Regions from separate parts of the Homo sapiens genome. Here region 1 is linked to region 2. The links are contacts of gene promoters, found by promoter capture Hi-C in human tissues and cell types (Jung and others, 2019). All regions are on one chromosome and are shown on one strand. The core of a region is centred on a gene start or on the middle of the fragment in contact, and the rest is flanking DNA. Distances in the headings are between cores, read along the strand shown.

Region 1 (2,700 bases), core at 17-2,516, 150 kb after region 2:
ACCATAGTGTATTCAATAAATGTTGAAAGACTCAATGGATGAATCCAAAGTCAGCAGAAAAAAGAATAGCAAAATTCTTAAAACAAATCAGAAGTTTCAAAACAAAACTTTTCATTAGAAATTTAAAGAAGGAATTCCAATACTTGGATCAATGATAAATCGTTCACAAGTACAGGAAAACAATGACTGTGGTAACAGCAGAATCTCACATTAACACCTCACTAAAGTGGATGAAAGAATCAGAGGTATCATAAATTTTTAACATATATTTTTGCTTTTCTTATGTGATCTATTCAGTAAATAAGGTACTCAGTTAATCATTATTTCTATCTGTAGACTGTTTAGCACATAGTCTGTATTTAAATTATACATTTTTAAGGCTGTGAATAAAATGTAATAAAATCTGCTCAGCATCAATTATAATGTTGAACATGATTTAGTCTTCTCCAATGATTTAAAGGGCACGTGGAACCTTGCAGTCTTTCAGAAACACTATGACAAATACTACTGACAATCACTGAAGTAGTGGTGTAGAAACATTTAACTTAAATAGTTTGCTTGTCATATAGCTAATTCCTGTTAATAGAGTACTGGTAGAACTACAGGACACCACTCACATTGTATTCAAAGGCTCAAACCGTTTATTAGTGTGATTCCAAAGCAGTGTGATTTCTCAAACTTTAGAGTGCATAAAGTATCACCCAGGAACATTATTTAAAACTTCAGATTCCCCTGCTTCGAACCCAGAAATTCTGACTCAACATATCTATAGTGCAGCCCAAAAACCTGCACTTTAAGCAAGAACACCAGACATTTTTGAGGCAGGAGTTTCATAAACCACACTTTGAGAAACACTGCTCTAAAACCTGTGCTCTTCTTCCATACGATGCTACTCCCACCAGATTTGTAGAAAAGAGGGTATACAATGCAGATAAGGATTTGCAAAGCAGCTTTCTGCAAAATATTGAGCAAACATGGTCCATGTGTATATGAAAGGATGCTGAGCTACAGTAAGTCCCAATCCACACAAATGTAATTTATGGATATAATAAATGACTTGTCTCTTAAGTGACTTCTAAAACTCCCTCTCCCTTCCTTCTCCACCTGCCTCCCTTGAAGAGGTTTCTCTCAGGCCCCAGGCCCAATCCTCCAGCCTCTGGTTCGTATTCATACTACAATGCCCTCATCCGCAGAAACAAAAGAGAGAGAAAACAGGAAAGAGAAGAGAATCCTGAATACCTCTTGAATTCTTCTAAGAACTTGCACACTTTGGAGTGCTTTTTAAAGACAATAAAATAATGAAGAGAATTTTCCTTGTCAAATAAAATTAGGATAGTATACCCTGGAATGATTTGCTAGGGAAGCCCATTATATTTTCTAATGAATAGCACCATATATTTCAATTATTCTGACAGAGAAAATATGGCCCAGTTATCTCATTGAGAAGAACAGCAACTAGCATTAAGAGAACCTGAAACCAGAGAGAAAACAATCTATTCAACTAGATAAAATGAGAGGTGCTGCTAAGAGGTGACCCATAAGAAAACTAGCAGTTATTCTCTCAAGAAGTTTAGTCAGACCTGGGAATTATTAGGAAAAACCTTTAAAATCATTCTAAAAAATACCGAAATTTATATTGGTTTTTCCATTTTTCTTAAATTACAGTATATTAAAAGTCCTTGCTTATGCTGTTAAGCTCACTGCTTCTAATTTGTCTTTATAATAAAATCAAATGCTAGTAGTTAACTTAGAACTGCATTTTACTATAAAAATTATCTAACTTGTAATCATCTTATTCCCTAAGAACAAGAAAAGTTCAAGCAAAATACCCATGAACATGGATAACTCCTCTAAAAACAATATGTACCTCTGTAAAACTTGGTCTAAATTCAGCCATTAAGATAGACATTTTCAGGACACACCCCTGCCCCAAACCATCCAACTGTCCAATGAAAATCAGAAAAGTGATCTCACTGGGCAGTTGGCACATGTCAGACACTGAATCCACTTGGTTTCTTTGTCTACTGCCTCTCTCCCTTTCCTTGGCTTTCTATCCTTTTTTATGTCCCAGCATTTTTTGTAGGAGATCTGAATGTAATCTTGGCAGGCATTTGCATGTGATCCTAGTAGTAGGAAATTCTAATAGTAGGAAAAGAAAAGGTAAAAATAACTAGAGAATAAAAAGATGAACAAGACAGATTTAAGTATTTATGAGTGAAATACATAAAAACGCTGCAGGTTTCTCAAAAGTTAAAGGGAAAGTTGATATTCAATTCACCAAGAATGAAAATATAATGTTGGGCTAGGCGCGGTGGCTCACGCCTGTAATCCCAGCACTTTGGGAGGCCAAGCTGGGCGGATCACTTGAGGCCAGGAGTTTTAAAACCAACCTGGACAACATGGCGAAACCCAGTCTCTACTAAAAGTACAAAAATTAGCTGGCTGTGGTGGCACACACCTGTAATCCCAGCTACTTAGGAGGCTGAGGGCTCAAGAATCACTTGAACCCCGGTGGCGGAGGCTGCAGTGAGCTGGGATAGCACCACTGTACTCCAGCCTGGGCAACACAGCGAGACTCTGTCTCAAAAAAAAAAAAAAGGATAAAAAGAAAGAATGAAATTGTCATAATGTTCAATTCACTGAGGATAAAAACGTGCAGACACAAACTCCTGGGTCTTACAATCTTTCTGAGAATTCTAC
Region 2 (2,711 bases), core at 1-2,500:
GTGATAATAGCTGCCTGACAGATGAAGAGAAACAGATAGAGAGAGAGAGGAAAGGTGATAATAGTTGCCCAATAGTTGAAGAGAAAGAGAGACAGAGACAGAGAGAAAGGTGATAATAGCTGCCCAATAAAGAGAAAGAGAGATGGAGAGAGAAACAGAGAAGGAGGAGGAGGGAGGGAGGAAAGGTAATAACTGCCTGATAGATGAGAAAGACAGGAAGATACAGTGAGGGGGGCAGGGAGAGAAAGGCAGAGGCAGAAACAGAGGGAGGAGGAGGAAGAAAAGGTGATATCTGCCCAAAAGATGGGAAAAAGAGAAAGATACAGAGAGAGAGAGAAACACAGACAGACAGACAGAAACAGAGGGAGAGAGAGGGGAGAGAAAAGATGATAATAACTACACAATAGATAAGAGAGAAAGAGAGAGAGAGAGAGGCAGAGAGACAGGAAGAGAGAGACAAAATAGGCAAACTGAGAATCACTTGTTCCTCTAGTATCTCTGCAAAATGCCATTGAGATGCAGCAATCAGAGTGCGCTACCGACGGCTCTCTCACGTTTATCATCTGACTCTCTAAGAACATACAGCTATGCTTGAGTGACTGGGCTTCAAGTGTTTGTTTAAAGCTGTGCATGACAGAGAAACTTGGAATTCCAAGACAAACTTGGAATCTTAATGATCTTGTCTGCGCTCAATTACTTGACCTGATTTTGCTCGGCAAATATTAGCCATCAAGCCAGACACACCTGTAGAAAGAAGCCACATAAAGGGCATTTGCAGTGGGAATCCTTTCTGCCCGTTTTCATAGCACACAAATTGTGTGTTTAACCAATTGTTGCAAAGTTTAAGGGCCTCTTAATAATACACATCCACCTTTCCTAAACTTCAGGGATTTTTCTAAGACAAATCAATCATTCCTTTAGTTGAATGACTTACTGAAAACATTGACTTAATGACTGGCTTTTTCTAACTACAACCATTTATATTTCTCAGCCAGAAATAAAACAAAAAAGAGCCATTCCTCCTGAATACCTGCAAACAATTACAATTATCAGCAAAGTGCTACCCACTCTTTGATATAAAACTTCCCTTGTAATGGAAAGTAGTAGATATAATTTGCCATGATTGGGTCTGCAGGAGAGAAATTAATGAATATAATAATTAAACGTAATACCTGTAGATAGAACTTGTCCCCATAAAAGACACATTTCAAGGATGACTGTGGAGATCCCCATTTTGCTGGGTTCTTCTCAATTGAATAGAAAATCCTGGACATTTATAGGTACCTAGCTAAAAGGAGGTGTGTCCTCTAGGGTGGTATATTTCTACTGCTGCTATAAATCAATATAAAGGAAGTGAGGGCTTTTGCTAACAGTCGATGGCTAATATGTGGAAAAAACTTAGGTGTGTTTGATTGATTGCCATATGAACAATCTGGCTGTTGCCCAACTGCAAACGCACTGACATAAGTGAAAAATTTCCAACTTCCCTCTCGGTGAACCTCAAGGACTCCCAAGTGTTTCCTGAATACGGGCTTGATTTTAATCTTGGGGAGTTCAAATTCACCTGTGGGAAGTCTGCCCCAAGGTTTGGGGAAGAACAGGATGTGGGCTGCTGAGCAAATACAGGACACAGTGCCAAGGGGGAAAGCATCTCTGGGATGGTTTTTCCTGGCAGGACATGCTCTCATCAGCCCCTGTGCAGTACTAGTAACCTCACCTTGGAAGAACGAGGATGACATGAGTGTGGATGTGATCAGAGAGCAGAAGTCATGAGGGATGATTCCACGGAGACCATGGGTCCATAATAGCTTTGGCCACAGTCTTCTGGGTCTCACACTAATTCCACAACAGGAGCTGAGAAACACATGACCTCAAACTGAACCACCTCCAACCATTTCACATGGCTTTGATTTCTTGTCCTTGACATGCACATTGTATGACCCTTGGAGCTTGGCAAACCCACAAAACCTGCCCCCACCTCCACCTATATTGCACACAATCCCCCTCCTTGGATTTGCTATGTAAATATCACTTCACTCTTTGGGACCCTCAGAAGTCATTACCAGACTCTGATAATGCCCCCCAACACACTCTACCAAGAAGGTTGCCTGACACTTATTTTTTAACCAAGACACTTGATGGCCAGTAACTCTTGGTTAAAAGCAGACAGCTTTCCAGGACTTGCCTCTGTTTTCCTAGCCTGGGTGAGCTGTGCCCTGCTTCTCAGCTGAGAGGCTGAGGCCATGAAATGACACTTGGCTTCTTTGCCATGCACTGTTCATCAGTAGTCTATGCTGCATTCTAGAAGGGTACCATGAACCCATGTCCTGTGTCAGCCACCAGTCAGAATTTAGGGCTGGAAGTCTGCCTTTGGCTTCATCCAGATGAAAGTTACATTTAATCTTGGATGTCCTTTTTAATCCTACAACTCTTCCTGTTGTTTCCAGGTGCCTCTTCACCCCTTGAGTAGAACAGGAACACAGAATAGGCTCACTGTGTTTCATCCTCCTACTGCCAGATCAGCAACTGATAAGCACTGGGTGACGAGAGAACAGGTTTACTCACCTACCAGGGAATGCCCAAGACCAGGCACATGCTGGATTCCTCTTAGAAGTGGATTGTGATCCCTTGGTTCCTGGAGTGTTGGACTGAGAATGATAATGCAGCTGGGTCTGGGATCATCAGAGTGTCATGACAGATTAGAATTGTCT

What was found. Contacts are between HindIII fragments. The study calls those that stand out against the background at their distance.
Region 1: a fragment that was not itself captured here is called in contact with the fragment with the promoter of DMBT1 in region 2 in 1 of the 25 tissues and cell types used here (bladder).

What each region holds. Positions count from the first base shown.
Region 1 is chr10:122,409,683-122,412,382 of GRCh38, reverse strand. All of the region lies in intron 5 of PLEKHA1 (pleckstrin homology domain containing A1), which reads right to left. Among named protein-coding and RNA genes, the nearest start is that of MIR3941, 5.9 kb to the left of the region's middle. The HindIII fragment of the contact is 5,773 bases long and covers 1-2,700 here.
Region 2 is chr10:122,559,293-122,562,003 of GRCh38, reverse strand. It overlaps DMBT1 (deleted in malignant brain tumors 1), which reads right to left and starts at 1,250. Exons shown (of 56, transcript NM_001377530.1): 1 at 1,173-1,250. The coding sequence starts at 1,233. The HindIII fragment of the contact is 14,664 bases long and covers 1-2,711 here.